4 separate regions of the Homo sapiens genome follow, and all the other regions are linked to region 1. Evidence: promoter capture Hi-C in 16 types of primary human blood cells and fetal thymus (Javierre and others, 2016). All regions are on one chromosome and are shown on one strand. Each heading gives the region's core, a stretch centred on a gene start or on the middle of the fragment in contact. The rest is flanking DNA. Distances are from core to core; before and after follow the strand shown. Region 1 holds the start of RPL24 (ribosomal protein L24). Region 2 overlaps TFG (trafficking from ER to golgi regulator). Region 3 overlaps ABI3BP (ABI family member 3 binding protein). Region 4 has its middle 220 kb from the start of ZPLD1.

Region 1 (5,701 bases), core at 2,076-4,575:
AAAAAGATCTTGCAGTGCACCTTTAAGTCAAGAACAAAGTATATTCGAATAGTTGTTTATTAAGGCACTGACATGCAAAATTACCTTAAAAACTTTTAACAAAAATAAGGCACATTGGTGGTTTACAGACATGCTAATTTTAAACTTTTTAGAAAGATGCAATCTTATTGTTTCTACAGTAAAATGGCAGTTTTTCTACAGTAAATGGCAGTATTTACCTGTTTAATATTCTTGTCTCAAACGAACACTTAAACATTTTTTTTATTGTGGTAAAAATGTAAAGTTGACAATTTTAACCTTTTGGTTTTTCTTTTCTTTTTTTTTTTTTTTTTTAAAGACTCAGCCTTGCTCTGTTGCCCAGGCTGGAGTGCAGTGGCATGATCTTGGCTCACTGCAACCTCCGCCTCCACCTCCGGGGTTCAAGCAATTCTGCCTCAGCCTCCTGAGTAGCTGGGATCACAAGTAACCGCCACCACGCCCGGCTAATTTTTGTATTTTTAGTAGAAACCGGGTTCCACCATGTTGCCCAGGCTGGTCTCTAACGCCTGAGCTCAGGCAATCTGTCCGCCTTGGCCTCCCCAAGTGGTAGAATTACAGGCGTGAGCCACCATCCCCAGCCTGTTTTCTATTTTTTTAAGTAGAAACTGGGGTCTTCACTACTATGTTGCCAGGTTGGTTTCAAACTCCTGGGCTCAAGCTCAAGGGATCCTCTTGCCTGGGCCTCCCAAAGTGCTGGAATTACAGGCGTGAGGCACTGCACTAGGCCCATTTTAACTTTTTTTTTTTTTTTTAAATGGAGCCTCACCCTGTCACCCAGGGTGGAGTGCAGTGGCACAATCCCAGCTCACTGCAACCCCCCACTTCCTGGGTTCAAGCTATTCTCCTGCCTCAGCCTCCCAAGTAGCTGGGACTACAGGCACCTGCCACCATGTCCGGCTAATTTTTTTTTGTATTTTTAGTAGAGACAGGGTTTCACTCTGTGGGCCAGGCTGTTCTTGAACTCCTGACCTGGTGATCCACTCGTTTTGGCCTCCCAAAGTGCTGGGATTACAGGCATGTAAGCCACCATGCCCAGCCTCATTTTAACTTTTTAAATTATAATTTAGCTATGCAGGATGGCTCGCGCCTGTAATGCCAGTACTTTGGGTGGCCAAGGCAGGAGGATTACTTGAGCCCAAGAATCTGAGACGAAATTGGGCAACATCGCAAAGATTTCTGTCTCCTCAAAATATATTTAAAAAATAGCTGGGCCATGGTGGCATGTGCCTGTGGACCACGGGGTAGGCGGAGGTGGGAGGATCACTTGAGCCCATAAGGTTGAGGTGGAGTGAGCTGTGATCCTGCCACTGCTCTCCAGCCTGAGCAACAGAGGACCTGTCTCCCCAAAAAAAAAAAAAAAAAAAAAAAAAAAAAAAAAAAAAGGTATAGTGGCCTTATGTACATTCATAGCGCTGTGTAGCTATCACCATTATCCATCTAAATAACTTTTTTTTTTTTTAAAGGTCTCCTATGTTGCCTCAAACAATCCTCCCACCTTGGCCTCCGGAGGAGCTAGAGTACAGCCGCTGCCACCAAGCCCGGATTTGCTATGACACTGATATACAAGTTATAGAGTCCCTGCTTTCAACTGTTTTAGGGTATAACTTAGAAGTGGAACTGCTGGGATAATTTTTATGTTTACCCTTTTGAGAAAACACCAAATGATTTTTCACAGCTGTTGCATATTTAGCAATGCACAAAGGTTCCAATTTCTCCCCATCCTCACCAACACCTGTAATTCCTGTTTTTTTTTTTCCTGAATAGTCACCCTAATAGGTGTGTCATATCCACTTTTAAGTTTCTCCTTCCTCTGAACTTTCAACATATTTTATGTCTGATGGCATTTATTTCTCACAATACCTAGAAAAGTCCTTCATCCAGAAGGTGTTCAGTAAGTATTCCCAAGCCTCCTGAATACTAGTCCTACCATGGCACTCAAACTTTTTCTCATGTATAACCCAGCTAAAAGGACACTTAACAAGGACCAGAAAAACCACTGTTTTTCTAGTGAATGAACTAGTGTATGGTGGACTGGTTCATGGTCCACTGGCTATGTTAGGACTAATCCTGTAAATATTGCAATCAAAACCAAATTATGGTAACTTCTCAATTTCCTCCCACTGGAAAACTAAGCCCTTCCACCCTGCCCTATAACGCAAAGGTGCTTAACGTAATTTATCTGACTTTAAAATTTCAACTCGGTATTGCTACTAGCCTAAAATATATAGAGACAGTTTATAATATCTTTTTCATTTTGCTGACGCTTTACAGTTTAAGAGCTCTTTCGCATACAGTCTGATTTAATTTTACAGAGCAGAAAACCAACGTTCAGAGAGCTTTGACAACTTAAGAGATAGCCCCCAACATCAAGGCGTATTCCACTTACCGACTGTCCCTTTTTGTGCTTCCTTCTGTAGAGGACAGTCCAGTTTATCTGCCGAGGATTCCTCTTGGAAAGGAAAGCCGACTCGCATTTCGCATTAAGAAACTGGAAAACCTAGAGTGACAAATGCAAAGGAATTACTATTTAACTATACAAAGTACAAGAGGCTGAGTAAGCTTGGAATCCTTAGAAGATCAATATGCTAGTTCTGGCTTATCATTTTACAAAACTGAGGCCCACAAGGACCAAAAGGCTGTCACATAACTGGCAGGTAACTGTGTCACACTATGAAGGTCCTTGCGTTTAGTCTTTTCTCGAGAGCAGGAAATCTAGGCTCATAGCAAAGGACAGGGTGGTGCGTCCTTCTGGGAAGCATTCTGCTCTTGTCCGTCCCAGGATTCCAAAGGGTACCTCCGTACCTCAGTTATTTCCCTTACACCGGGACATCAGTTACATAAACCCCTCCTGATGTCCGACCTGGCTCACAATAAATAATCAACACTGGTTCACTTAGAGGTTTCTGGTCCTAACGACCAGTCCACAGAGCGTCCACGAAGACTTCCAGAGGCCAGTGGTGATGTGGGGAATAAACCCGCCTAAACCGAATTAAACCAGCCTTTCCTCCTCGGAGTACAAGAAGGTAGGTGAAGCCGACGCGGCTTTTTACCTTCCCGTCGGTCCTGGCGTAGCGCCTCCCGTGTCCGGGGTAGATCTTGTACCCGCTAAAACTGCACAGCTCGACCCTGCAACAAAAAGTGAAAGTCCATCAGGGAGGGTGTCTACAGCCATGCCAGGGACGACAGAGAGGAGTTCTGCCCGAGGATGTAAGCGGATTGGGAACCACGGGTCGTGCTTACTTCATGGCGACAGCTCCACGGAAAGACAAAAGATGGCGAAAAGAAAGAGAGAATCATGGGAAGAGACCTTATAAGGTCGCTGCGGGGATGGGGGCCGGAAATCTCCTCCCCAATATCCTTCGATGCTCCTGGCCCTCCTTGATGACGTAATCATCGCGAGGCGAAAGATCTCGTTTTCCCTGACAGCTGACTTCCTCTGGCGCAATTCATCCAGAGGCGCTGGAGGGTTCTCGGGCCCAGAGGGCCTGCCAAAAAGGCAGTCAGACAGTTGGTTTATGAGTCATTCTGTCTCTGTCTCTCCTCTCTTTTTTTTTTTTGAGACGGAGTTTCGCTCTTGTTGCCCAGGCTGGAGTGCAGTGGCGCAATCTCGGCTCACCGTAACCTCCGCCTCCCAGGTTCAAGCGATTCTCCTGCCTCAGCCTCCCTAGTAGCTGGGATTACAGGCATGTGCCACCACGTCCGGCTAATTTTGTATTTTTCGTAGAGACGGGGTTTCTCCATGTTGGTCAGGCTGGTCTCGAACTCCTGACCTCAGGTGGTCCGCCCTCCTCGGCCTCCCAAAGTGTTGGGATTATAGGCGGGAGCCACTGCGCCCGGCCCATTCTGCCTCTCTTACTGCCAAGTATCCTAGAGCCATCTTCCGGCTGCAGGGAATGTGAACTGAAGAGAAAGGTGTCCTCTCTTCTCATAAAGAGACCCAAAGACGAATGCCCCGCAGGTAAAACCAGTCACATTTTGCCTTCCCTGTTGGCCCATTTCCTCAACCAAACAAATTAATAGTTTCACCATTTATAAGAAAGTAATGACAACCGAACCGTTTCTCAGGCTGTGCGAATCGAACAGTGCGCGTTGGCGCTTTGCATTAATTATAATTAACATTCTTTGAGCGCTTTCTCTGTGCCGGGAATTATGCCAAAGGCTTTTTAAACATGAGCTCATTCAGTTTCCAAAATTCCTATTAAGTACCTGCCTAAGAACTACAATTCGGAGTTGCTGCCTAGTGAAGTTGAGGGGGTCGGTGGAGCCCCGCTGGGAGGCCAAGGGCTCAATCTGTTGAGCCCTTCTATGATGCTACATATTTCATCGTATGACAAGGAGTGGCCAGAGGCAATTCTTGAATTCTGTGGGAGGTTGCAGTATATGACTAGGAAACAAATGTAATGACTGAGTTCTGCTTTCTATGTATGCAACTCACCCTAAAAACGTTTTGTAAGGTAGCTGGTTGAAGATATTTGGAATGTCTAACAAGTTGGCTGACTAATGTCATGAAAACTGTACAATTGTGTTGGAGCCAGTCTTTTTTTTTTTTTTTTTTCCTTGAGACGGAGTTTCGCTCTTTCATTCAGGCTGGAGTGAAGTGGCGCGGTCTCGGCTCACTGCAACCTCCGCCCTCTGGGTTCAAACGATTGATTCTCCTGCCTCAGCCTCCCGAGTAGCTGGGATTACAGGCGCCTGCCACCACGCTCGGCTAATTTTTGTATTTTTAGTAGAGATGGGGTTTCACCATGTTGTCCAGGCTGGTCCCAAACTCTTGACCTCAGGTGATCCACTCGTTCTCCCAAAGTGCTAGGATTACAGGCGTGAGCCACCGCGCCGGGCCTGGAACCAGTCTTAAGAATGATGTTAGGTGGCCAGTCATGGCGGCTCATGCCTGTAATTACGGCACTTTGGGAGGCCGAGGTGGGCGGATCACCTGAGGTTAGGAGTTCCAGCCCAGCCTGGTCAAAATGGTGAAACCCCTTCTCTACTAAAAATACAAAAATTAGCTGGGCGTGGTGGCGCACGCCTGTAATCCCAGCTCCTCGGGAGGCTGCGGGAGGAGAATCGCTTGAACCCGGGAGGCAGAGGTTGCATTTAGCCAAGATCGCGCCACTACACTCCAGCCTGGGCAAGAAGAGCAAAACTCCATATCAAAAAAAAAAAAAAAAAGGAGGCCGGGTGCAGCGGCTCACGTCTGTAATCCCGGCACTGTGGAATGCCGAGGCGGGCGGATCACGAGGTCAGGAGTTTGAGACCAGCCTGGGTAACACGATGAAACCCCGCCTCTACAAAAAAAAAAAAAAATTAGCCTGGTGTGGTGGTGCGCGCCTGTAGTCCCACCTACTCGGGAGGCTGAGGCAGGAAAATCGCTTGAACCCGGGAAGCGGAGGTTGCAGAGAGCCAAGATCGCACCACTGCACTCCAGCCTGGGCGACAGAGCGAGACTCCGTGTGAAAACAAACAAACAACAACAACAAAAAACCAAAACAAAACATCTTTCAGAAATAGTCCTGGCTTCTACAAGATCCAAGGCACAGCTGAGTTTAGGTAGCCGGTGGAACCAAGATCCACCTGAAGGAATGCAGTCCTTTTTTGTTCCACAGAACCTCAGAATTTATAGTCCCTTCCCAATATTTTAGAAAGATTTTGTTTTATTGTTCTT
Region 2 (5,701 bases), core at 2,002-4,501, 970 kb before region 1:
GGCAAGTGATGATGGTGGCTTGAATCAAGTTGATAGCAGTGAAGGTGCTGAAGTGGTTGGACCCCAGAGTTATTTTAAAGGCAGTGGCAACCATATTTTCTTGGCAGTTTGGATGTAAGGTTTGAGAGAGAGAGATCAACCAAGATTTTTTTGTCTTATACAACTCGAAGGAAGATAAAGAAGCCTCTAGGAGAGGCAGGTTTTAGGTGGAAGATCAGGAATTTATTTTTAGATATATTAAGAAAAATCTAAATGGTCATGTCAGATGAACAGTTAAATATGAGAAAAAATAATAGTAGACGTAAAATAAAAGCTTATTTTATTATCCCTACAGTAAAATAATGTTGCCTCCAGACCATTTTAACATAAATATGGTAACATGGGGATAATGAATCTTTTGGAGGCTAGAGTTTCTTAGCATCTAATAGTAGCTTTGCTCTCAACTTTTACGGTATGTTTTGTTGTTTAATTATCAAAACCACTTTTATCAGTCTTTCTCTAGAGTTGTATATATAGAACATCCTGGAGTCCACCATGAACGGACAGTTGGATCTAAGTGGGAAGCTAATCATCAAAGCTCAACTTGGGGAGGATATTCGGCGAATTCCTATTCATAATGAAGATATTACTTATGATGAATTAGTGCTAATGATGCAACGAGTTTTCAGAGGAAAACTTCTGAGTAATGATGAAGTAACAATAAAGTATAAAGATGAAGGTAAGAGTGTTTTTAAAGCTATTTTTTAAAGTCTTTTTAAAAAAAAAAAAAAAAAGACAGAGCCTCTGTTGCCCAGGCTGGAGTACAGTGGTGTGATCATAGCTCAGTGTCACCTCAAACTCCTGGGCTCAAGCAATCCTGCCTCGGCCTCCCAAAGTGCTGGGATTACAGGCATGAACTGCCATGCCTGACCTTAAAGTCTTAAGTATTGTATGTGTTATTTTGCCCATTTTTATTGGACTCTTTCCCATCCTCTCTTCACGGTAGTTGAGACCTCACTTTCTTGTATTGAATGTGATGTTCCTATAGTTACTATAATTCTCTCATCAGTTAAAATTAGCTAAGTGGGGCCGGGCGCAGCAGCTCATGCCTGTAATCCCAGCACTTTGGGAGACCGAGGTAGGCGGATCATTTGAGGTCAGGAGTTCAAGATCAGCCTGGCCAACATGGCGAAACCCTGTCTCTACTAAAAATACCAAAAATTAGCTGGGCGTGGTGGTGTGCGCCTGTAATCCCAACTACTCGGGAGGATGAGGCAGAGAATTACTTGAACCCGGGAGGTGGAGCTTACATTGAGCCAAGATCGTGCCACTGCACTCCAGCCTGGGTGACACAGCAAGACTCCGTCTCAAAAAAAAAAAAATAGCTAATTGGTTTATTAGAAGGGAATTTTAAGTGTTAGAACATTTTCACATACATTTTTTTTACAAGCATTATTTTCTCCTTTTGTCCATATAATTCTGGTTTCTTTTAGCTTAAAAAAATTTTTTTTCTATTCTTATTTCCCGAAATGAAAGGTTTTAGTATGTATTGAATGAAAAAGGATTTTATGGTCAACTAAGTAAGGGAAAGCTGGTTTAAACAAAGACAAAAGTGTTTCTTTATTGTAGGAGTTTTCAGATTATGTAATATGCTTATATACATTTTCAGAAGTTAGTAGTATGCAGTGTTCCCAGACTCATTTGTTGACAAAATTATCTTTATGGAAATAGGTTTTGAATGAAAAATGTTTCGGCAAACACACTGAGTAGAATTATAGTAGTAGACTGTATTTCCTATTCTTCAACCTGCCTTCTTTGTTAATATCTCTGCTGAAATTTTCTCTTTAGGTGGTTACCAGTGTTTTTTACTGTGGAACTTACTTGCAGTGTATTTAATCTTGACCTCACTGTTTAGCACTGCTACCCACACCATCCTTGTTTTTAAATACTTTTACCTCTTAACATCTCTGACACTGCTTAACCTAGTTTTCTTATCACTAACAGTTTTTTCTCTGTCTGTGTTAGGGTTGGGCTTAAAGTAATGCCAGCAGATATAATAGAAATCTTAAAATCTGAGTGGTTTAATAGTTGAGAAATCTTTCAGGGATCCAGGTTGAAAGAAGCTGTTACCTTCAACACATGGCTTATAAGCTCACCATAGGCATTGACATTGGCAAGCAGATGAGTGAAGACAGAGTATGAAGAATCATATGGGAGATTTTACTCACTAGGCCTGATGGTGTTGTATGTCATTTCTGCCCTTATGACATTGGTCAGTACCCAGTTACATGGCTTTGCTAAGATGCAAATGGGTTGGGAAGTATAGTCCCTGGCTGAGCAGCCACTTAGCACAACTTATACTGTGGAGGAGAAGTGTAAATCACTGGTGATCAGTTAAATTGACCATCTAGCTAAAGGTATAATTCTCCTTTGTTTTTGTGATGTGTAGTCTAAGAATACCCAAAACAAATTTTTGAGAGTTGCCCATGTTAAGAAACAATAAAGGATAGTACTTTTTTCCTGTTTTCTTATGCTTATCATACATTGATTTGCACCTCTGTGACTTTGAAATGTGTGTCTTAATTTGATCAGTGAATTTTTTTTTTTTTTGAGACAGGGTCTCACTCTCATCCAGGCTACAGTGCAGTGGCATGATTATAGCTCATCATAACCTTTAACTCCTGTCCCCAGGCAATACTGCCAACCCGGCCTCCCAAAGGCATAAGCCACCATGCCCAGCCTACAATTCAGATTTTTAACTTTTTTTTTTTTTTAGCAAAGTCCCAAGAGTACTTTTTTTTTTAAATTTTGTTTTAATTGACAAATAATAATTGTACATATTTATGGGGTACATAGTAATGTTTCATTACATATAATGGGATTAGATCAGGGTAATTCGCATATCCATCACCTCAAATATTTATTTCTTTGGGTTAGAAACATTCAATATTCTCCTTCTAGCTATTTGAAATTATATAATATGTTATTGTTAACTGTAGTCATCCTATAGTGCTATAGAACACTGGAACTACTTCTATCTAGTTGTACTTTTGTGTCTTTTAATAAATCTCTCCCTATCCCTCTTTTCCCCTACCCTTTGCAGCCTCTACTGTCATCTGTTCTGCTTTTTACTTGTATAAGATCAACTTTTTTTAGCTTCCACATATGAGAGAGAGCATGTGGTATCTTTTTAACTTAATGTCTTCCAGTTCCATCCATGTTGCTGTGAATGACAGGACTTCATTCTTTTTTATGGCTGAATTGTATTCCATTGTGTATATATACCATATTTTCTTTATCAGTTAATCTGTTGTTAGACACTTAGGTTGATTCCATATCTTGACTATTGTGAATAGTGCTGCAGTAAAATGTGAGTGCAGATTTCTCTTCAATATACTGGTTTCCTTTCCTTTAGTTAAATATTCAGTAGTGGCATCGCTGAATTGTGTGTTAGTTCGATTTATAGTTTTTTGAGGAACCTTCATACTGTTCTCCCTAGTGGCTGTACTGTTGACATTCCTACCAATAATGTGTAAGAGTTCCCTTTTCTCTTCATTCTTGCCAGCATTTGTTATTTATCTTTTTGATAATAACCATCCTAACTGGGGTGAACCTTGTTGTGGTCTTCATTTTCCTGATATGTGTGCATTTCCCTGATGATTTGTGATTTTGAGCATTTTTTCATATATTTATTGACCATTTCTATGTCTTTTTTTGAGAAATGTCTGTTCAGATCATTTGCCGATTTTAAAATCGGATTGATTGTTTTTTAGCTGTTGAGATGTTTGAGTTCCTTCTATATTCTGAATATTCATCCTCTGCCAGATGAGTAGTTGTATTTCCTCCCATTCTGTAAGTTCTCTTTTCACTCTTGATTGTTTCCTTTGCTGTGCAGAAAAGTTTTCCAGTTTGAGATAATCATATTTATTTTTGCTTTTATTGACTGCACTTTTGAGGTCTTATTCATGAAATCTTTTCCCGACCTATTAAAGAGGTTATCCTTTTCCTAATGAGTGGTCTTGTCAAAAGTCAGTTGGCTATAGATAACATGGATTATGTTCTTTTGTTCTATGTGTTCTATTGATCTATGTGTTTGTTCTCTTGGTCAATGGGTCTGTTTTTATGTCAGTTCTGTTGGTCTGTGGGTCCGTTTTTGTGCCAGTCCATGCTTATTACAGCTTTGTAGTATATTTTGAGGTCAGTAAGTGTGACACCTTCAGCTTTGTTCTTTGCTCAGTATTGCTTTGACTGTCTGGGGTTGTATGTAGTTCTGTACAAATTTTATGGTTTGTTTTTAAATTTTTATGAATAATTTTATTGGTAGTTTGATAGGGATTGAATTGAATCTGTAAATTGCTTTGAGTAATTTTGTCATTTTAACAATATTTGTTCTTATATAAGCATGGGATGTCATTACATATGTATGCTCTTTGGTTTCTTTCATCAGTGTTTTTTTTTTTTTTTGTAGAGGTTTTTCATCTTCTTGGTTAAACTGCTTCCTAGATATTTAAAAAAATTTTTGTAGCTGTGGTTAATGGGATTGCATTTTTTATTTTTTATTGTATGTGTATAGAAACACTACTTATTTTTGTGTACTTATTTTGTTTCTGGCAGCTTTATTGAATTCATTTATTGGTTCTAAGGGTTTTGGTAGAGTTTTTAGGTTTTTGTTTATATAAGATTATGTCATCTGCAAACAGGGACAGTTTGCTTCCTTCCCAATTTGGATACCTTTTATTTTTTTCTCTTGCATAATTGCTCTGGCTAGTACTTGCTTAACTGTCTTTTTTTTATTTTTTATTTTTTTGTCTTGAGACAGGGTCTTGCTCTGTCTCCCAAGCTGGAGCGCAGTGGTGTGATCATGGCTCATTGAAGCCTTGAACTCCTGGGCTCAAGCAGTCCTTGCAACTCAGCCTCCCGTGTAGCTGGGACTGCAGGCATGTGCCACTGCACTCAGCTTCTTATTCTTAATGTTTATCAAAATGGGGGTCTCACTGTGTTGCCCAGGCTGGTCCTGAACTCCTGGGCTCAAGCGATCCTCCTGCCTTGGCCTGCCAAAGTACTGAGATTACAGGCATGAGCCAGTGTGCCTGGCCTTTAACTGCCTTTTTTCCCACTTGAAGATGCTTTGCCTTTATCTCAAACTGACCTCATTGACTGGCTTTCTCTTAACTACTGTTTAGGGCAAAGGTCAGCAAACATTTTCTTTAATAGATCAGAGAGAATAAATATTGTAGCTTTGTGGGTCACATAAGGCCTCTGTCTCATCTTTTTTTTACAATGTAAAAACCATTTTTCATTCACAGACCTATAACAACACAGGGATTTTGTCCGTTGGTCACAGTTCATGGACCCTTAGCTTGAGGTGTCCTCGTTGTAGTTTGTCTTCCACATTTAGTTACAACTTTGTATTTCATGGTTTTTTTTTTTTTTTTTTTTTTTTTTGAGACAAAGTCTTGCTTTGTCGTTTAGGCTGGAGTACAGTGGGGTGATCTTGGCTCACTGCAGCCTCCACATCCCAGGTTCAAGTGATTCTCCTGCCTCGGCCTCCCAAGTAGCTGGAATTATAGGCACACACCACCACACTCGGCTGATTTTTGTATTTTTAGTAGAGACGGAGTTTCTCCATGTTGGCCAGGCTGGTCTCGAACTCCTGACCTCAGGTGATCCGCCCACCTCAGCCTCCCAAACTGCTGGGATTACAGGTGTGAGCCACCGCACT
Region 3 (5,701 bases), core at 2,331-4,830, 790 kb before region 1:
GTATGTCTGTGAGGGTGTTGCCAAAAGAGATGAACATTTGAGTCAGTGGACTTGGAAAGGCAGACCCACCCTCCATTTGGGTGGACACCATCTAATCAGCTGACAGCATAGCTAGGATAAAGCAGGCAAAAGAAGTTGGAAGGACTAGACTGTCTGAGTCTTCTAGCTTCCATCTTTCCCCTGTGCTGGATGCTTCCTCCCCTCAAACATCAGACTTCAAGTTTTCAGCTTTTGGATTCTTGGACTTAATGACAGTGGTTTGCCAGGGGCTCTTGGGTCTTCAGCCACAGACTGAAAGCTGCATTGTCAGCTTCCCTACTTTTGAGGTTTTGGGACGCGGACTGGCTTCCTTGTTCCTCAGCTTGCAGACGGCCTGTTATGAAACCTCAACTTGTGATTCTGTGAGTCAATACTCCTTAACAAACTCCCCTTCATGTATATACATCTCTCCTATTAATCCTGTCCCTCTAGGAAACCCTAATACAAATGGTTAAAGGGGCAAGAGGAAAATCTAAATAAAAATGTCAAAGAAAGAAAGAGTTTAAGAATAGGTTAAGAAGGATAAGGACTGAGAAAACTCTACTGGGTTTAGTAACTAATTGGTCATTAGTGACCACCAAGAGACATTTCAGTGGAACAGTGGAAAAGGGATGGCAACTAGTGAGAAGGGATGAGGACTGTGCAGATGGTGCAGAATTCAGAATGTGGGAGCCATAACTCTGAAAAGTTTGGAAATTAAAAGAGACTGAAAAGTAGCTTAGAATACATAACAGGATCAACAGAAGGCTTTGTTTTCAGGGAGAGAAACTTTGAGCATGCTTGCCAGCAGGAGGCAGGGCACCACTGCCTGTGAAAGGGCAAATGGAAGAGAGAGGGGATCACTGGAGAAGCAAAGGCTTAGACGACATGGGAAAGATGGGATCATGAGCACTGTCTGAAGTCAGAATTGTGTTTCTTGGAAAGAAGAGAAGAGAGGTAAAGATAAATTCAGGATGAGGAAAGAGTGAGTTGATAAAGGATAGTCTAGATTTCCTCAGTACTGTGGAAGGTAGAATAGATTGGGGGAAGAAAATAGCAGGGAATGTAGCCAGGATGCTGTTGCCAGAATCCAGGGTAAGGTGAGGCATGCTTGGATTGGGAACATTAGTGTGAAATGGACAAGGAGAAGACACAGATGCAGATATGGGTACATCTCAAAAGAAAAACGAATGTATCTTCGGGCCTTCATAAACGATAGTAGGTGAAAAATAGAAAATAAATGAAGTTTTAAATTAGAGCCAATGGGACAATGATACTACTTTAGAAAGCAATACAGAGACAAGTGAGGTGATATTTCAAGAGAAAAAGTCTGAGTTTAATCTTGTCATGTTGAGTTTGAGGTAATGGTAACACATAAAAGTGAGAATGTTGATATCTCACTGGTTATTTCATTCAGCATGTATTTACTTGGGGCCTCCTATGTTCCTGATGCTCTTCGGGGGACCAGGAAGTAACGGTGGGCAAGATACTCCCTGTCTTCACCGAGCTTAAAACTTACACGGCAAGACAGACAGGTAACAAGGCACTGGGGTCAATCAGGTGAGAATTCAGACACTGAAGATACTCGCTTCTTACAAACTTGGGGGCGGAAAAAAGGCAAGAGAGTCTGCTCTGGACTGGCCAAAAAGGAGAGCCCTCATTCTACGTTAAGAGTAAGTAAACACGGCCGGGCGCGGTGGCTCACGCCTGTAATCCCAGCACTTTGGGAGGCCAAGGAGGGCAGATCACGAGGTCAGGAGATCAAGAACATCCTGGCTAACACGGTGAAACCCCACCTGTACTAAAAATACAAAAAATTAGCTAGGCATGGTGGCCGGTGCCTGTAGTCCCAGCTACTCGGGAGGCTGAGGCAGGAGAATGGCGTGAACCCGGCAGGCGGAGCTTACAGTGAGCCGAGATCGCGCCTCTGCACTCCAGCCTGGGCGACAGAGCGGGATTCCGCTTCAAAAAAAAAAAAAAAAAAAAAAAAAAAAACAGAAAAAAAAAACACAAGATGAGAATGTTAGAAAATGCGAAAGTGATTTCTAAACTATTCATAAAGCTTTAATACGCTGGCAAAAGAGTGAGAACTAAAGCAATCTTGAAATCTTTAACAAGTTGGAAACATGAGAAAGAAAAAATAAGCTATTAATGGTGAAATAAATTTGGGTTAAAAACAGTTGACTCTTCATCAGGGCCAATTTGAAAGCTTTCTTTCAAATTGAGGCTCTATTGAAGACAAATGGGTACACTCTTCCATTCAAAGCCCATTAAGAATAAAAACTGTAAATGAAGCACATCTGCTCTCCGATGTGAACTTAGAAAGGAATCTTAAAGCATGGGAGACCCATAAAGACCCTATGCAAATAGGTACAGAAACATGCGCCACAAAGGATAAAGTGATATTTCATTGATACTTCCAAGCTAAAAACAAAACAAAAACAATGAGGGTTTTCTAACTGGAAACTTACTACCTAAGAGCTTTGATATACAAAGTCCATAGTCAAAATATAAAAACAAATTTCACTGTTATTTGCACAGGATAAATGAGGCTACACAAACCAATGTAAATCATTTTTTTAAAAAATCAGAGACTGTACAGAGGGAACCAAATATCAATGAATTAAAATGATACCAATTGGTGTTCCTGTAGCAAGCCAAGTGCATTCAGATTGCAATGGTTTTGTAAAAAGATACTCCTGAAGTAAAACTTTAGCTGTATTAATCTTCCAATTTTCAGAATATAACCATCATTTTTAGCTATTATTGCTTATGCTAACCTACTGGATTAGTCTAAATTATAAAAAAATTATGCATGAACATATGAGGGTAGATTTCTCCAAGTCTAGTCTGCTTCTAATTACACTAATTTGTAGTTCTGGCAGATTTATTTGGATGCTTCTAATATGTACAGTATTTCCAGGCTTTTAAATCGGGGCTATTATTTTTTTCCTCAAACATCACAAAGACTTTAAATGTCGGTTTATTAACTATGCTAATTAGGGAGAAAGGAAGCATGGGGAAATGAAATTTACTAGTACTCCAAATACTCCTTTTTAGTCATTACTGTTTAATTCTTCCCTTCAACTCATGTCCTAATGGTTCCCTACTTTGGTCAAGAATATCTTGCTTGTCATTATTGTATCTTTCAAAAGACTTTATTCAAAATGAAATTATCGATTTTGAATATTGTGATGTGATGTGCCTAATTCCATCTATTTGATAAGAGTAGAGCCAGGGTGCGTGTGCAAGGGGGTGAGGGTGAGGGTGAGATCCATGCATGGTCTGAATAGCTTGGGCCTTAGAGTCAACAGCCTGGGTTAGAATCCTAGCTCCATTAGGTCATCTGTCCTAACTTTCTCTATATTCATTATCTCCGGGTGCTGTCAAACCATGGCAACATCTATCAATTAGAATCGGTCATCAGATAGATTCTTTTACAGAAGTGTCAGTAGGACAAAGTGAAATTGGAGGAGAGGCTTGAGAGCGGGAGGAAGAAATTACTCCAAATTATGCTACACAAGTTTGCCAGGTTACTAAACCTATTGAAACAAGTAGTCCTACAGATTCATCAAGCAAGTTGAGTAACCCTTAAAATTGGGTTGCATTTTGCTGTAAGACTACAAAATTTCCTTTCTTCCTTCCTCTCTTCTCCCTTTCTCTCTCCATAACTTTATCAAGATAATTTTTAAAAAGAAAAAGAGCAATCCATAAGTGTTTATTTTCTCAGCATTAGTACCCCAGACCAATCCATTAGGAACCGGAATTATCACAAGGAGGCATGTTCTTTTGAGTCCATTTTCCAAACAAAATAAGTCATGGGATTAGTGGTGGGTGAAATAAAAAGTATTTCAGATTCTTTGAAGCATTTCAAAATTATTTTTCAAAAAATTGGGTTTTGGAAATATCTTCTACATGTTTTTCCAAGTATTCATCCCTTGAGAACCATGGGCATATGAAGGGAAATTTGATTTTTTTCTTGAGTCTAGATTTCCCAACGTCAGATGAAAGGTGATTTTGAGAACTTATAAACACTTTAAAAATTCCTTCATTTTAGTTTGATTTGGACAAATAAAAATAAATAAAACACTACAAAAAACATAAACATGGCCAAAAAGCACATTAAGAAGTATGCAATAGCCTTAGTGTAAGGGAAATACATATCAAAACTGTAATGAAAAACTACTACACTAGAATGGCTAAAATGAAAGATGCTGACAACACAAAATGCTGCTTTAGAATGTGGAGCAATCAGAGCTCTCCTACATTGCTTGTGGGAATGTAGATGGAAAAATTAGGCAAAAAATAATCAAATATACGTAATATACATCTTCCTATAACTCAGAAATTCCACTTATGTTTAAGAGAAATTAAAATGTCCACCAAAATTTTATGCGAAAATGTTTATACAGTCTGTATTCATATACATAAAAAAAAACAACATAATTCAGGTGCTCATTAGCAAGAGAATAAACTTTTGAATATTCACATAATAGACTATCACTCAGGAGTACAAAAAAGAATGAATTATTGATATCCGCAATGTCATGAATGAATCTCAATGCTCAGCGAAAGAAGACAGTCAGAAAACCCATACTATATGACTCCATTTATATGGAATTCTAGAGTAGGCAAAACTAATCTATGGTGATAGAAATCAAATCAATGGTTGTTTCTGGAGGAAAGTACTTTCTAGAGTGATAAAATTTTTCTGTTTCCTGATGGGTATTGGATACATGGTTATAGGCATTTGTCATAACTCAAACTGTACACTAATATTTATGCATTTTACTGTGTTTAAATTATACCTCAATAAATGTTTTTTATTCAAAAAGGAATAAGAAAACTTCTGAAATGTAAAAATCACTTTGAATGTATTTAAAATAGAAAACTTTAAAAATAAAATGCCTTGATTGAAGCTTGAAAATTTTGAATGCTTTTCTAGATGCAAGTTTCTGAGTTTTGAAGCTAATATAGTAAATATTTATAAGCAAACATCATTTTATAACCAACCTAGAAGTATGGTTCAGCATGTAGCACAGGGCCTAGTACATATCCATCCAATGCATCTAAATACATGCATCAAATGGTTGGATGGATAAATAGCAGTAGTTTAAAAATATACTTAGATTTTTCCCATTTGTTCTTCCAAAGAAAATGGTAGCTTCATTTCCAACTTGCTTTTCCTCTGCTTATATCTCTGCCTGTGTGTCTCTCCTCAGTTTTCTAAGCCAGTGATTCTCAAACTTCAGTGGGCATCAAAACCACCTGGAAGGCTTGTGAAAACACAAATGGCTGGGCCCCACCTTGAGAGTTTCTAACTCAGTGAGTCTGAGGGGGACCTGAGAATTTACCTTTTGACAAGTTCAAGACATGCTGATACTGCTTGCTTTGGGAACCACACTTTGAGAAGTATGATTTAAGAGCTTCAATTGTGAGATCAAAGATCCATCCTTTTCCAATCAACTTTCCAACTTTTAATTGTCTTTCCTAACTGCCTTTGGCCCCGCCTTCTGAGTTTCTAATTGCACTTATTACTGATACCACCCATTTGCTATTTGACTCATACTTCCTTGTATAATAGTTCATGATTTTTGAAAAAAATTACATGTATGTGTTTTCTATTCAGGTAGATAACCTTCTCAAGGGCAGGGCCCCTGACTTTGTTCCCCTCACACCTAGA
Region 4 (5,701 bases), core at 1,042-3,541, 530 kb after region 1:
GGTATTCAATTAGGAAAAGAGGAAGTCAAATTGTCCCTGTTTGCAGATGACATGATTGTATATCTAGAAAACCCCATCATCTCAGCCCAAAATCTCCTTAAGCTGATAAGCAACTTCAGCAAAGTCTCAGGATACAAAATCAATGTACAAAAATCACAAGCATTCTTATACACAAACAACAGACAAACAGAGAGCCAAATCATGAGTGAACTCCCATTCACAATTGCTTCAAAGAGAATAAAATACCTAGGAATCCAACTTACAAGGGATGTGAAGGACCTCTTCAAGGAGAACTACAAACCACTGCTCAAGGAAATAAAAGAGGATGCAAACAAATGGAAGAACATTCCATGCTCATGGGTAGGAAGAATCAATATCATGAAAATGGCCATACTGCCCAAGGTAATTTACAGATTCAATGCCATCCCCATCAAGCTACCGATGCCTTTCTTCACAGAATTGGAAAAAACTACTTTAAAGTTCATATGGAACCAAAAAAGAGCCTGCATCACCAAGTCAATCCTAAGCCAAAAGAACAAAGCTGGAGGCATCACACTACCTGACTTCAAACTATACTACAAGGCTACAGTAACCAAAACAGTATGGTACTGGTACCAAAACAGAGATATAGATCAATGGAACAGAACAGAGCCCTCAGAAATAATGCCGCATATCTACAACTATCTGATCTTTGACAAACCTGAGAAAAACAAGCAATGGGGAAAGGATTCCCTGTTTAATAAATGGTGCTGGGAAAACTGGCTAGCCATATGTAGAAAGCTGAAACTGGATCCCTTCCTTACACCTTATACAAAAATCAATTCAAGATGGATTAAAGACTTAAACGTTAGACCTAAAACCATAAAAACCCTAGAAGAAAACCTAGGCTTTACCATTCAGGACATAGGCATGGGCAAGGACTTCATGTCTAAAACACCAAAAGCAATGGCAACAAAAGCCAAAATTGACAAATGGGATCTAATTAAACTAAAGACCTTCTGCACAGCAAAAGAAACTACCATCAGAGTCAACAGGCAACCTACAAAATGGGAGAAAATTTTGCAACCTACTCATCTGACAAAGGGCTAATATCCAGAATCTACAATGAACTCAAACAAATTTACAAGAAAAAAACAAACAACCTCATCAAAAAGTGGGCGAAGGACATGAACAGACACTTCTCAAAAGAAGACATTTATGCAGCCAAAAAACACATGAAAAAATGCTCATCATCACTGGCCATCAGAGAAATGCAAATCAAAACCACAATGAGATACCATCTCACACCAGTTGGAATAGCAATCATTAAAAAGTCAGGAAACAACAGGTGCTGGAGAGGATGTGGAGAAATAGGAACACTTTTACACTGTTGGTGGGACTGTAAACTAGTTCAACCCTTGTGGAAGTCAGTGTGGCGATTCCTCAGGGATCTAGAACTGGAAGTACCATTTGACCCAGCCATCCCATTACTGGGTATATACCCAAAGGACTATAAATCATGCTGCTATAAAGACACATGCACACGTATGTTTGTTGTGGCATTGTTCACAATAGCAAAGGCTTGGAACCAACCCAAATGTCCAACAATGATAGACTGGATGAAGAAGATGTGGCACATATACACCATGGAATACTATGCAGCCATAAAAAAGGATGAGTTCATGTCCTTTGTAGGGACATGGATGAAATTGGAAGTCATCATTCTCAGTAAACTATTGCAAGAACAAAAAACCAAACACTGCATATTCTCACTCATGGGTGGGAACTGAACAATGAAATCACATGGACACAGGAAGGGGAATATCACACTCTGGGGACTGTTGTGGGGTGGGGGGGAGGGGGGAGGGATAGTATTGGGAGATATACCTAATGCTGGATGACGAGTTGGTGGGAGCAGCGCACCAGCATGGCACATGTATACATATGTAACTAACCTGCACAATGTGCACATGTACCCTAAAACTTTAATAAAAAAAAAAAGATCTTGTTTTTGTAAAATCAGTTACATCAATGACATTTGGTAGCACTCTGTGCACTTCTTTTTCACCTGCTTTGCTGTATTTTCATCTGCTTTGTCTTTGAACAATGGAGTGCCAAAATTTCATGTGATTTGCTCTCTCTACAACTTACTCTGGAAATTATTATTCTTTCTTATTATAGTCAAAGCTGTTACTCCATCAACAAGTAGTTTAAAATTTTTATACATACATTAGAGAAATAATTTATAAGTAGAAAAGATCATTGAATATACTTTTTGTTATTCTCAATAAAGTTAGTGTTTTATATATATTTATTTATATTTATATATATATAAAATCATTGGAAAAAGTCTAGAATACTAGAATATATCATAAGCTGAAAAACAGATATACTTTTATCCAATTGTATAACAAACTTCCCACACCAGGTAATATTTATTTCTTTAAATCCTCAAGGTTTTTGTGTCTTCCAATAGTATTTTCTAACAAAAGAATGCATTATAATTTGTACCTGTTTTATTTCCCAGGTGTTTTATTTTCCAGATGCATTTACTGTAGAAAGAACAATGTTTCCCAATGGTATATAGTTTTTCTTTAATCCTTAGGTAGGAGATTAAATATTTATTACATATTTAATGAAATATTGTGAAGTCCTGGGTTAGTTATTGCATGATACTTTGAACCACTATTAAAAAAACCTGTTGATATTTGTCTTCATAATTCTGTATGGTGATTTATGCCTTAGTAATTTTGATGGCTTTAAAATGATCATTAATATTTTAAAGTACAAAATCTACTTAGAGAAAGACTAATCTTTAAAGATAGTGGATATAAACTATATTTCATAGAGTCTTCTTGATAATTTTGAATCATTTTATGCAATTAATGTCAGGGTAAATGGCCGTTGTTTTTACCACATCATATGGCTGACAAAGAACTTATTGAAATACATCTATAAAGTATAACATTATCTTGTTTCCTTACATTGTTTGAGGCAACCCATTTAAAAATTTATGTATAACTTTATTATGAAATTTTATACACATAGACAAAAATAGAACATAATGAACCTGATGTGCTTATCTTCCAGCTTCAATAATTATCACTGTATGGCATATCTTATTTCATCTATGCCTCCCTACTTACCTATACTTCAGATTATTTTAAATCAATTTCTAGACAACATATAATTTTATCTATATGGTTCAGTGCATATCTTTAAAAATGATTGTAATACTGACTACATACAAAATTAACAATAAATTTCCAATATTATTAAATATTTAATGTTCAATTTTTTTCTCATTGTTTATAATTTTATTTATATTTTTGAATATAGAAGCAATGGGCTCAAGATACATTTTGAGGATAGATTCTACACTAGTTTCTGTTTGATTGGTTTAATGGTGGAGAAAAGAGAGAGGAATTTGAAGGTGAAACAATTTTCTAGGGGGGTCGTATACTTAAATGAGGACGACTGTAGAGGTAGATTTGGGTGAGAAGATAAAGCATTCAGCTGTGGAAATATCAAGACGGAAACAACATGTTAACATTTGGATGAATAAGCCTGTAACTCAAAAAAGGGGTTGTGGTTTAGAGACATAGATTTGGAAATATATATATCATAGATAATATTTATTTTTTTTACTTCTTTGCCAGCTTCTTTTTTCTTTCTTTTTAAAATTATACTTTAAATTCTGGGATACATGTGCAGAACATGTAGGTTTGTTACATAGGTATACATGGGCCATGGTGGTTTGCCGCACCCATCAACTTGTCATCTAAGTTTTAAGCCCTGTCTGCATTAGGTATTTGTCCTAATGCTCTCCCTCCCCTTGCCCCCCAACCCCCGACAGGCCTCAGTGAATGATGTTCCCCTTCCTGTGTCCATGTGTTCTCATTGTTCAACTCCCACTTATGAATGAGAACATACAGTGTTTGTTTTTCTGTTTCTGTGCTGTTAGTTTGCTGAGAATGATGGTTTCCAGCTTCATCCATGTCCCTGCAAAGGACATGAAGTCATTCTTTTTTATGGCTGCATAGTATTCCATGGTGTATATGTGCCACATTTTCTTAATCCAGTCTATCGTTGATGGGCATTTGGGTTCGTTCAAAGTCTTTGCTATTGTGAATAGTGCTGCAATAAACATATGTATGCATGTGTCTTTATAGCAGAATGATTTATAATCCTTTGGGTATATACCCAGTAATGGTATTGCTGGGTCAAATGGTATTTCTGGTTCTAGATCCTTGAGGAATCATCACACTGTCTTCCATAATGGTTGAACTAATTTACACTCCCACCAACAGTGTAAAATCGTTCCTATTTCTCCACATCCTCTCCAGCATTTGTTGTTTCCTGACTTGTTAATAATCTCCATTCTAACTGGCGTGAGAAGGTATCTCATTGTGGTTTTGATTTGCATTTCTCTAATAACCAGTGATAATGAGTTTTTTTTCATGTTTGTTGGCTGCATAAATGTCTTCTTTTGAAAAGCGTCTGTTCATATCCTTTGCCCACTTTTTGATGAGATTGTTTGTTTTTTTCTTGTAAATTTGTTTAAGTTCCTTGAAGATTCTGGATGTTAGCCCTTTGTCAGATGGATAGATTGCAAAAATTTTCTCCCATTCTGTAGGTTGCCTGTTGACTCTGATGGTAGTTTCTTTTGCTGTGCAGAAGCTCTTTAGTTTAATTAGATCCCATTTGTCAATTTTGACATTTGTTGCCATTGCTTTTGGTGTTTTAGTCATGAAGTCTGTGGCTATGCCTATGTCCTGAATGGTATTGCCTAGGTTTTCTTCTAGGGTTTTTATGGTTTTAGGTTTTATGTTTAAGTCTTTAATGAATCTTGAGTTAATTTTTGTATAAGGTGTAAGGAGGGGATCCAGTTTCAGTTTTCTGCATATGACTAGCCAATTTTCCCAGCACCATTTATTAAATAGGGAATCCTTTCCCCGTTGCTTGTTTTGTCAGGTTTGTCAAAGATCAGGTGGTTGTAGATGTGTGGTGTTATTTCTGAGGCCTCTGTTCTGTTCCATTTATCTATATATCTGTTTCGATACAAGTAGAATGCTGTTTTGGTTACTGTAGCCTTGTAGTATAGTTTGAAATGAGGTAGCATGAGGCCTCTGGCTTTGTTCTTTTTGCTTAAGATTGTCTTGGCTATACGAGCTCTTTTTGGGTTCCATATGAAATTTTAAGTAAATTTTTTCTAATTCTGTGAAGAAAGTCAATGGTAGCTTGATGGGAATAGCTTTGAATCTATAAATTACTTTGGGTAGTATGGCCATTTTCACGATATTGATTCGTCCTATCATTGAGCATGGAATGTTTTTTCATTTGTTTGCGTCCTCTCTTATTTTCTTGAGCAGTGGTTTGTAGTTTTCCTTGAAGAGGTCCTTCACATCCCTTGTAAGTTGTATTCCTAAGTATTTTATTCTCTTTGAAGCAATTGTGAATGGCAGTTCGCTCATGATTTGGCTCTCTGCCTATTATTGGTTTTTCCTTTCCATATTTAGTGCTTCCTTAAGGAGCTCTTGTAAGGCAGGCCTGGTGGTGACAAAATCCCCCAGCATTTGCTTGTCTGTAAAGGATTTTATATTTCCTTCGTTTATGAAGCTTAGTTTGGCTGGATTATGAAATTCTGGGTTGAAAATTCTTTACTTTAAGAATGTTGAATGTTGGTTCCCACTCTCTTCTGGCTTGTAGGGTTACTGGAGAG

The links. The method cuts DNA at HindIII sites, captures the fragments that hold promoters and counts their contacts. A CHiCAGO score of 5 or more calls a contact.
Region 2: a contact is called between a fragment that was not itself captured here and the fragment with the promoter of RPL24 in region 1, in 3 of 17 cell types (neutrophils, naive CD8 T cells and fetal thymus). The highest score is 6.8, in neutrophils.
Region 3: a fragment that was not itself captured here is called in contact with the fragment with the promoter of RPL24 in region 1 in 1 of 17 cell types (endothelial precursors); the score reaches 5.6 in endothelial precursors.
Region 4: a fragment that was not itself captured here is called in contact with the fragment with the promoter of RPL24 in region 1 in 4 of 17 cell types (non-activated CD4 T cells, total CD4 T cells, total B cells and 1 more); the score reaches 7.6 in non-activated CD4 T cells.

What each region holds. Positions count from the first base shown.
Region 1 is chr3:101,683,393-101,689,093 of GRCh38, forward strand. It overlaps RPL24 (ribosomal protein L24), which reads right to left and starts at 3,326. Exons shown (of 6, transcript NM_000986.4): 1 at 3,280-3,326; 2 at 3,090-3,165; 3 at 2,426-2,536. The coding sequence starts at 3,284. LOC124906262 (endogenous retrovirus group K member 5 Gag polyprotein) reads left to right here. Exons shown (of 3, transcript XM_047449415.1): 2 at 1,503-3,997. The coding sequence starts at 3,987. RefSeq lists enhancers at 2,723-2,912, 2,903-4,102, 3,073-3,562, 3,573-3,622, 4,533-5,086 and 2 more. The HindIII fragment of the contact is 5,611 bases long and covers 2,597-5,701 here.
Region 2 is chr3:100,713,152-100,718,852 of GRCh38, forward strand. It overlaps TFG (trafficking from ER to golgi regulator), which reads left to right. Exons shown (of 8, transcript NM_006070.6): 2 at 492-718. The coding sequence starts at 535. Among named protein-coding and RNA genes, the nearest start is that of TFG, 6.5 kb to the left of the region's middle. The HindIII fragment of the contact is 5,880 bases long and covers 312-5,701 here.
Region 3 is chr3:100,892,955-100,898,655 of GRCh38, forward strand. The region is part of intron 4 of ABI3BP (ABI family member 3 binding protein); the gene reads right to left. Among named protein-coding and RNA genes, the nearest start is that of ABI3BP, 98 kb to the right of the region's middle. The HindIII fragment of the contact is 2,710 bases long and covers 2,226-4,935 here.
Region 4 is chr3:102,215,752-102,221,452 of GRCh38, forward strand. No RefSeq gene overlaps it. Among named protein-coding and RNA genes, the nearest start is that of ZPLD1, 220 kb to the right of the region's middle. The HindIII fragment of the contact is 6,610 bases long and covers 1-5,596 here.